Regions from separate parts of the Homo sapiens genome. Here regions 1 and 3 are each linked to region 2. The links are contacts of gene promoters, found by promoter capture Hi-C in blood cells and fetal thymus (Javierre and others, 2016). All regions are on one chromosome and are shown on one strand. Each heading gives the region's core, a stretch centred on a gene start or on the middle of the fragment in contact. The rest is flanking DNA. Distances are from core to core; before and after follow the strand shown.

Region 1 (3,147 bases), core at 611-3,110, 100 kb after region 2:
TAATATCTCCATCACTCATCACTCCCCTGCCCAGCACGTGAGCCAAGTGGCAGGACAGCATCCTGGGACTCAGATCTAACACTGTGAGGAACTGAAGCCAGGTGTCCAAGGCAGCAAGTCAAAAGGCTGATCTTAACCAGACTCATGAAAAGAAGCTGAGTGACCATGGGCTGTACTTTACAGGAGGAAGGGTCTCAACATCTGTTTCAAGCATTTTATCCAACTATTGATTCTAAGGGCAGGAAAGTTTTGCTTCATAGGGATGTGTTCTTCTCCCTAGAGAAGAACAAGTCTGCAGAGCTTCCCAACCTTCCCAACGTCTGGATTACACAGAAAATTAGAACATGTGTCTGGCTTAGTGGAGAGAAAGGCAAAGCTACCATAGCCAGAGGTGACCCTCTTGGAGCTCCATTCACTCAGCATCTGGGGGAATCAGTTCCTCAGAGCAGCTTTTCATGTATCACCTACTCATGTCCTGTCCTAGCCTCATGAAGAAAATTACTCTGAGGCCCTGACCTTTGGAGGACATTTGAAATCTCAGAAGAGAAGAGAATGACCAAGACATTTAGTGAGTCAGAGATCAGAGCTTTATTATAACATGAGGTAAAGGAGGAAAAGAAGACTTGCAATTGGGGTGTTACATCAAGCACGAAGTTCTTCCAGGAAAGCCCCATGAGTCTTTGTGGTCTCTGCCAACCAATGAATGGAATGAGAGGAAGTGGAAAGAGTATCCATCAGGCCGTAGCAGGTTCTTGGCCATTCAGTCCCAAGAGCTCTTCTGTAGCCCAGGTCAGCAGCAGCCCCCAGAGCTGTGGCAGCAGCCAGAGCCCCCAGAAGGTTCACTCTCACAGCAGTCGGGGCTCTGGTGCCGGCGCCGGTGGAAGAGACGGGGCCTGTGGTGGCTCAGGGAGCAGCCACCAGCCCCAGAGCTGCAGCAGCCCCCAGAGCTGGGACCACAGCAGCTCCCAGAGCTGGGACCACAGCAAGAAGAGACTGCAGGGAAACATGGAGCTGGGCACTGTGGTGGGCATTTGGGGGGACACTTAGGTGGACATTTTGGGGTACACTTGGGAGGACACTTGGGAGGGGGCTGGCACTGCTGCTGGTTTTGCTGGCAAGACATGCTGGCAGGAGTTTAGTCAACCTGAAAGATAATAATGAAACTCTTTAAATATTTCAAACCAAGGATCATATTATACCTCTTCTAAAATCAATGCATGTGTAGAAGAAGAATGATATTTAGATAATACAATCACATCAGTAACCTGAAAGAAACAACTTGAATCTTTCCTCTAGATAAAAGTACGTAGATAAAAAATCAACAGAATGAGCTTCTTACTCTTCCTTTCAGGGGAAACTGCGATTGCTCTATCCTCACAAGCCCGAATAGAGTATTCACAGCTCCCTGAAGTACCTATTCCTTTAATACAAGCCCTAAGGACAAGCTGGGTGTTGCAGGACATACCAAGGGGTCCTCTGGAAAATATTTTGCAATGAAACCTCCAGATAAAAGAGCCTGGCTTGAAGTATTTGCCAGTTTCCATGGTGTAAATATGCCCAACACAGCAGTTTTGAAGTTACCAACATGAAGTCACTGAACACAGAATTGGAAAAGATGTGCACAGTTAGCTTTCCCCACCTATATGAGCTCCGGTAGGCCTCAGAGCCTCAACAGATTCGAGGCAGGCTGAGTCCCATTCCTGCTCAGTATGGCAGAACACAAGCACACAACTCTTTCTCCAGCCTACCTCCATCCTCCCCATCCCTCTGCCTTGCTCATACCCCTCTGGTATCCCAGGTTGCCACTCACCCTGGTCACACGCAGGAGCACAGACACGTCCCTGGGGAGTCAGAGCAGATGAGATGCTGAAGCTGGATGTGTCTTTTATAGGGCCCAGGCTTGGCTCTGGAAAGAGCAGGAGGTGGCTCTTGCACAACCAGGCACACGCTGGGTCATTCCTGACATTCTCCTGCCTCTTAGTCCCTGCAATCCAAAGAGGCCTCAGGAGCTTCCAGGACTCCTCTCTGGGGCTGCAGTCTAGAGAGGCTGTAGCCAGTCAGAGCCTCCACCAGGTGGGAACCCTAAAGAGTTAACTTAGGGTACCCAAGGGACCCACACCTGGACAAGATTCTGTTCCCTGCATTTTTTTAATGCATGTCCTCTGAGGAAACATCAGTTCTGAGCCACAGCTTTCCCTGACCTTGTGGAAATGTTCCATTATGACTCCCTCCACCCTGAGCAGTTTCTCTTCCATGTCCTGCTGTGGATCCAGCCATCCCAGAGGGCTTCTACAGCCTTGGCTTTTTCTAGGCATCCCTCCCTTGCCTAGGCTCTCAGCCCTTCCTCCTGGCCTCTGTGTTTCTGCTTTTCCTCCGACTCACCATGGCAAGCAGATTCGGTGGATTAAATCTGAGTTGATTCTGTCACCTAAAGCAAGGAGAATGATTGAGAATAAACAATTCCCTCTAAAATCTAAACATTTCCTTCAGTCAGAGGACTTGTATTGAATGTGCTACTGGAATCAGAAAACTTGCATATGATAACTGGGTAATCTCTGAAAGTTGCTGTAACAATTATCAATAATTGCTAGAGTATTACTATGATACTCACTGTGAGTATCAGTTCTCACATATAATGCCCATTATAAACCTATCAGTGAGATATACCTATCTCACTGAGCTGTTTGTAATATAAAGTGAGAAGCAAGAAAGAGCTAAGTATGACATTTTGTGCCTGATAGACCCTTAATAAATATATGTTTAATAGAAAAACTAATGCCATGTATTGGATACTTGCCCCGGTCTTATGTGTCATTAATTGCCCATATAGAGCCCTTACCCTCAGAGAGCTTAACTCCACCAGACACTTAGATTATTTGAAACCTGTCTTGGGAAGTAGACATCATTTCTTGGGGCTCCTATGCAGAGGGAACTCCTTTCCTACCAGGAAGTAGAGGGTCAGCCAGGAATCTAGTTATTCAGAGTTCTGATTCAGGGTTGCACTAGACAGAGTTACCCAGTCATTTATTCATTTAGTTTAAACAGATACATTGAGTGTGAACCTTGAAAACATTACACTACGTGAAAGAAGCCAGTCACAAAAGACTGCATATTGTATGATGTTATTTATATGAAATGTGTAGAGTA
Region 2 (3,257 bases), core at 145-2,644:
GGAGCCACAGCAGCCTCCGGAGCTGACGCTGCAGCAGGAAGAGACAGGAGGGCACTTAGGGGGACACTTTGGGGGGCACTTCGGTGTGGGGCACTTGGGAGGGCACTTGGGAGTGCACTTGGGAGGGGGCTGGCACTGCTGCTGGCTCTGCTGGCAAGACATCTCGGTGGCGGGTGTTCAGGAGCTGAAGGAGGGTCAGACAGCAAGTTAGATGGAGGCAGAGGACACCCCTGCCTATTCTTGTCCTTTCTGCATTATTTCTAGATCCTTCATTTTGAAAGCCTTATATCAAACATAGGAAAATCACCTCTAATGTTTTTATCACTCTCAATGTTTACCAAGTGCTTTCATTCATGGATTCTCATTTCAAACCTTATTTGAGATGTTGTCATGCAATATATAATCTCCAAATATGTAAATAAAGTTTCTGCTCATTAAAAGCTCCTAAGTGTGGGAGAGAAGTCCAGGAAATAAATTGGCTCCGGGCCAGCATTCATTCTATCACATCACCAAGAATTCTGAAAATGTTCAATGTTGAGACCAGTTTAGAGATGAAAATCTCTTTAAGGAAAAATCAAAATAAATTTCTATTGGAAGAACTGATATATTTCAGTTTGCAGAAATAGAGAAAACTATAACCGCAAAGGATGTTGGAGTCAATTTGTTCCAACCAACTCAATATATAAATAAAGAAACTGAAGCCAAAAGAGGTAACTTCACTGGCCCAAAGTTATTCATTAACAGTCACATTTGTTCCGGGGTCCCCTGGTTCCCATCCTGGGCTCTGCCCTTTAGCACATCCTGCCTCCCCAGGCCTGTCCCCAGGCACTGTCACATGGCTTTTAAACTCCAGTGTGCACTCAGTTTTCCACTACAGATCTTCTTGTTGGCATCTAACAAGATCCACAGGTGTCTTTGATCCTTTCTTCCTCTAAGTAGCAGTGTTCTCAGCATATCTTTTCTAAAAGTGAGTATGTCTGTATTTCCAAAATTATATTCCCACTATGCAGCCCACTCTAGCAACATCCAGTGGCCAATGTGTTTATTCTCTAAAACCAGAGAAACACACTGAGCAACTGAAAACAATTTGGTTCCTCTAAATCTGTGTCATACAGCCCTTCAGATCTTACCAGTTCTTCTTAATCTCTCTCACTCCACCCCACCCCTCTACCTCCTCTTTCCAATTTTCTGCCCCCACCCCATTCCTTGCCAATCACAATTCCAGGCCCCTGAGGCCCTGCCTAGACTCTACTCCTGCCCTGGTCTGAGTATCCATCCCCTCCTTCCCTGGCCTGGGCATCCCTCTGTGGAAGCCCCTGCTCCTTTTTCCAGGGCACACTTACCAGGATCACAGGCAGCACAGGGTTCTTCAGCACCGCAGGAGGTGAGTGGATGGGATGCTCTGGCCCTGAGCCCTTTTATTCTGTCCTTGGGTGCTGCCTCCAGCGGTGAGACAGAGCCTGGGCATGAGAGGACCTGCCTCCCGACACCCACATAGGTCTTGTGACGAGTGGTGACTGGCAGTTCTGCATATACCGTCCTTCATTGGTGTTCAGGGGAGCTGCTGTCAGCTAGGAAAGAGCTTGGTGGAAATGGGGGCTTGTGGTGGGTGAAAATGGACATCATGGTTCCTGGAGTCCTCCGTGGCCTATTTCCTATGAAGATGGCTCTCTTCACAGTCTTGTAGTCACACTTATGAATTCTGCACAAACAACTCATTTTTCCTTCTATTCTAGATACTAATTTTCCATCTAGACCTTTGGGTCCATATAGCTTGGTTAAAAATCCACATGCCTGCATTATGGGGTTTGTCCATGTGCACATGGGCATGTGTGTGCATCATAGAAGTCGAGAAAAGAGGCCTTGGAGACCCTGGCAAAGTATTCAATATTTTTGGCCATTGGCTTTCTGATGTTTTAAATGAAGATAATAAGAGAAATATCTTTTCTGCAGGATTTACAAATTAATTAAGATAACAAAGGGGAAGTAGCTGAGATAGTATGTGGCATGTGGTTATAATTAGGAAATGGATGAATAGGTAGATAGATAGATAGATAGATAGATAGATAGATAGATAGAAAGAAAAATAGAGGCAAACCTGAGATTTTAATGGACATTGGGAATTTTTAAAGTCACAGGTGCCTTTTAAGTTAGGTGGCTCTTATTAAAACTAAAGGCCATTTTTTTTTCCTCCTACGTACCTCAGTGAATAGGGCTTTCTGAAGGTAGATCCAGAGTGGGTATAAGAAAAGAGGACTAAAGGATGTATATTGCCCCAAATTATAGCATAAAAGAATTTGCAGTTTCCTGAGGAAAAGCTGAAGGGATGAGGTAAAATAAAGATGAGAAGGGTGAAGAGAAGAGAACAGCCAATGAGGTGGCTTTGAACTGTGACTTGGAGTGGTGTAGTTGGTATAGACAAGAATAGACATAGTCAATATTTAATTTGAAATTATTGGCTTTGTTGCAATACACATTTCCTGGGTTTAATTTCCCAGTTTCCCATGCTCAAAACTAACCAAATGCAAAATCTAACAATAAAAAACCAATATTTGAAAAATAAATATGGTCAAAATTACATATAACATCAAAGAATTATTGGATGGTTTTAGCAGATTATAAGTTGCAGAAGAACAGATCGGTGAACTTGAAGAAATTGTTCAAACTGAACTGAAGAAAGGGAAAAATATTAAAAAAATGAACAGATGATCAGTGACCAGTGGAATAATATCAAACATTCTAGCACCCATGTATTTAGAGTTTCAGGAAGAGAACTACAAACCACTGCCCAAGGAAATAAAAGAGGATACAAACAAATGGAAGAACATTCCATGCTCATGGGTAGGAAGAATCAATATCGTGAAAATGGCCATACTGCCCAAGGTAATTTATAGATTCAACGCCATCCCCATCAAGCTACCAATGACTTTCTTCACAGAATTGGAGAAAACTACTTTAAAGTTCATATGGAACCAAAAAAGAGCCCTCATTGCCAAGTCAATCCTAAGCCAAAAGAACAAAGCTGGAGGCATCACGCTACCTGACTTCAAACTATACTACAAGGCTACAGCAACCAAAACAGCATGGTACTGGTACCAAAACAGAGATATAGAACAATGGAACAGAACAGAACCCTCAGAAATAATGCTGCATATCTACAACTATCTGATCTTTGACAAACCTGACAAAAACAAGAAATGGGGAAAGGATTCTCTATTTAATAAATGGTGCTGGGAAAACTGGCTAGCCATATGTAG
Region 3 (3,436 bases), core at 250-2,749, 120 kb after region 2:
ATATATATTATGTTATCTGAGTGAAAAAATAATTTAAATATTTAAAATTGAGGAAAACATAAATGTGTATACCCAGAAAACAATGAAATAAAATGAGATGGCACACAATATGAAAAATTTTACCATAAATAAAGCAAAAATGTATATGAGTGAAAACTAATTGTGAACAAATGAACTTTGATGTGTATGCATAGTTAGTCTAAATGAAGAATGGAAATGAGCAATATAAGTCCTCTGTTAAGATTCTTAAAATATAAAGAGCATACTTCAGGGGAAATTTTGGCAGTCAACATGCATGTACTACCTAGATTATCTCTTGTCCCTTTTTACTGCTCTTGTGCACACTGCCCACCCCAACCCCCACCTTCTGTTGTTTTCTCACCTTCAACAGCCAGTACCTGCAGCTCTTCATCAGTATCTAGGCTGCCCTTGAGTTCTGGAGCCACTTTGCCCATACATGCAGAGAGCTGGAAGTACTAGGGATGTCCAGGTGGGCAGGTTCTAAATTCCCTTAGTTTTCTCCCATCTGAGAATGTCTCTATATCACCTTCATTGTTGAAAGACAGAAAATTATTTGCTGCATGTAAATATCTGGTTGACAATTGTCATTTTTGTTGTTTTCCTTCAGTACTTTAAAAATGATAAGCTACTTTCTTCTGGCCTCTGTGATTTCTGATAAGAAATCTGCAATGATTTGAATCTTTGCTCCTGTTTTAGTGATGCATCATTTTTTCTGGCTGTTTTCAAGATTACTCCTGTGTCTTTAGTTTTCAGCTGATGTTATCAGGGTTTTTTGAGCTTAGCTTGGGATCACTCTTGGTGATTTCATGAGTTTTGGGTTCACTCTGATTCTTGAAACTGTATGTTTATTTCTTTTACTAAACTTGAAAAGTTTCAACTATTATTTCTTCACACATTTTTTTCAGTTCTACACTCATTCTTCTGTCTTTCTGGGATTTCAATGACATAAATGATAGATTTTGTTATTGTCTCACAGATCCCTGATGCTCTGCTAATTTCTTGTTTGTTTTTCTCTCTGTTGTTTAGATTAGATTATTTCTCCTGATCCATTTTCAAGTCTACTGACTCTTTCTTTGTCATCTCCTTCTGCTATTAAATTTATCCAGTGGCTTTTTGAAAATTTAATTATTGCATTTTTTAGTGTTAACATTTCTATTTGGTTCTTCTTTATATTATTATCTTTGCTGAGACTTTTTATTTTAACATTATTTCAATAGTGTTTATAATTGCTCATTTGAGCATTCATATAATAGCTGCTTTAAAGTCTTTGCCAGATAATTTCAATATTTGTGTTATCTGAGCATTGGTTTCTGTTTATTGTTTCTTCCTATGCGAGTGACATTTTCGTGGTTCTTCTTTTGTAAAGTAATTGTTTGTATGCTGGATATTTTTAACATTCTAAACAAGACTCTGGATCTTGTTTAAATTTGATGGAAAATGTTGATGTTTTCATTTTAATGGGCAACCTTCCATGTAAAACTATTCCAATTATCAATTAAGTTTTTGAGGTTTTTGTAGTGCTGTTCATAACTGTCCAGAGTGAGTGCCAACCAGCATCAGCCTGAGATCTGGGAAGTAGAACCTCTATTAATAAGTTATCACTTTTTTGTCTGCTAATGAGGATCAGAGCCTTGCACGTGTGTCCTCACAGCAAACTCTGGAATTCATAAACAATTTTATGGGGTCTCTTTCCTGAGCTTCTGTCTCTCTCTCTGCAATCTCCTCAGTACTTTCAGGTTCAGCGAGGCTCACCTTCATGGTCTTCTTGCCAGAAATTGAGCCTCTAGTTACCCTTCTCTCCACACATTTATATGACTAGGCCCATGTCTAGGACCAAGAATTGGGAAGACAGTGAGAGAAAGAAAGCAATAGGGGTTGGCCCCACCCTTTTGGGATTACAGCTCCATGAAATGGAGAAGTAGTTCCTCTTCTCACATTTTATACTCCTGCTAGCTCCCTTATCAGCTGTTGTCACTGCCATCCACCATGGAGTTGCCTGAGATATGGGGTATGAAAGAACAAGGAGATTGAAATGGGGGACTTCCACATCTTCTATGGGCTTACCCTTTTGCTCCTCAAGCCAGAACTAGCTGACTTCTTCAAAAACTCTGTATGTGCCCCCACAGCTCTCATTTCCAGGTTTCCACCTGCATTAAGTTCAGGCCAGGAGAAACCAAAGGAGGAAAAGTGAAGCTATGCACCTTTTCAGTTCTACTTTTTTAATTCTCATGTCCTTCCCCTATCTGTCTGCTGCTATTTCTAGCTCCCAACTAGCTAGTTCCTGTCAGTCTTCCCAGGTTTTATAGTTGCATTGAGTGGAAGAAAGAGAATTTTACTCCATACATAGATAAAAGTCTCTGAATTATAATGTGAAGTATTTATTCTAATTCATTGTCTTTCTTTCCTTCTTCAGGTATACAAATTATATGTAAGTTAGATCTCCATTGTCTGTCTTCTATATTCATTACCTTCTGTCTTATCCTTTAGGGGTTTTTGTTGTTGTTATTCTTTTATATTTTCTAACTTGTGTGTCCCTTACTGTACATTTAGTTGTATTTATTATTCCTTGGATATCTCATAAGGAGTTTTGTATTTTGATTCAATTTCTTTTTTCTTGTCTTTTGATTCAACTTCTTTTCATATTCAGTATATTTATAATACTTTTTTTAAAAAAGTATTGGTCAGGGGCAAAAAGTGCTGATGAATTAAGAATTTACTTCATAGAACATCAAAGAATCTTATGTATTCATTTTAAACAATGGTGAATTATTTCTAATACCTCTGATGTTAGTGGAATCTTTTTAAATGCTTGTGACTTTATGTTTTTATCATTTAGGCCTGTGAATTCATATTCTGCTGGGGAGTATTAGAGATTCTGACTGGAAATAATTACGAGGGAAAGGCTCCAGTGTCTCTGTCAAGCCCCCAGTGAGGTCAAGGCCCCACTTTATAGTCCAAGCATCAGGAAACCAGCTCATCAGGTGAGGACTTTACCTCGATACTTCTCCTTCCCCCTCCCTGGCAAAAAATATTACCTACCTTTTAGATTGTAGTCTACCACCTTCTAGGGGGTCGGAGAAAGAAGGATGAGGATGTGAAACTCAAACTAATTTAATTCCCAACCATTTTCCTGAGTTCTTCACAGGAGCAGGGTTTCTCTATGTTTCCCTGGCTTTACTCAAGAGGGGACTTAATCCTCCATGGTAGCTCCCTGACCACCATACCCTGGGATCTGAAAATAGTTGAAAGGAAAACTTGGCAAGAACTCTCATCCTTAAGGATGAGAAATATTTTTAAATAGAGGAGTCCCAATTCCAGAATAGGCAAACAAACAAACAGCAACAACAACAAATACCCAGAAAACCCACCCTGGCAAGACTAATCTAGGTTAAAAAAAGAGAAGTTATCATCAAAT

Evidence for each region. Contacts are between HindIII fragments. The CHiCAGO score rates a contact against its expected background, and 5 or more counts as called.
Region 1: the fragment with the promoter of LCE2C here is called in contact with the fragment with the promoter of LCE1F in region 2 in 17 of 17 cell types (non-activated CD4 T cells, fetal thymus, neutrophils and 14 more); the score reaches 17.7 in non-activated CD4 T cells.
Region 3: a contact is called between a fragment that was not itself captured here and the fragment with the promoter of LCE1F in region 2, in 1 of 17 cell types (M2 macrophages). The highest score is 6.7, in M2 macrophages.

The regions. Positions count from the first base shown.
Region 1 is chr1:152,673,992-152,677,138 of GRCh38, reverse strand. It overlaps LCE2C (late cornified envelope 2C), which reads right to left and starts at 1,860. Exons shown (of 2, transcript NM_178429.5): 1 at 1,811-1,860; 2 at 570-1,144. The coding sequence starts at 1,123. The coding sequence ends at 791. The HindIII fragment of the contact is 8,836 bases long and covers 1-3,147 here.
Region 2 is chr1:152,773,277-152,776,533 of GRCh38, reverse strand. It overlaps LCE1F (late cornified envelope 1F), which reads right to left and starts at 1,394. Exons shown (of 2, transcript NM_178354.3): 1 at 1,344-1,394; 2 at 1-184. The coding sequence starts at 162. The HindIII fragment of the contact is 9,364 bases long and covers 1-3,257 here.
Region 3 is chr1:152,648,697-152,652,132 of GRCh38, reverse strand. No RefSeq gene overlaps it. Among named protein-coding and RNA genes, the nearest start is that of LINC00302, 5.1 kb to the left of the region's middle. The HindIII fragment of the contact is 4,084 bases long and covers 1-3,436 here.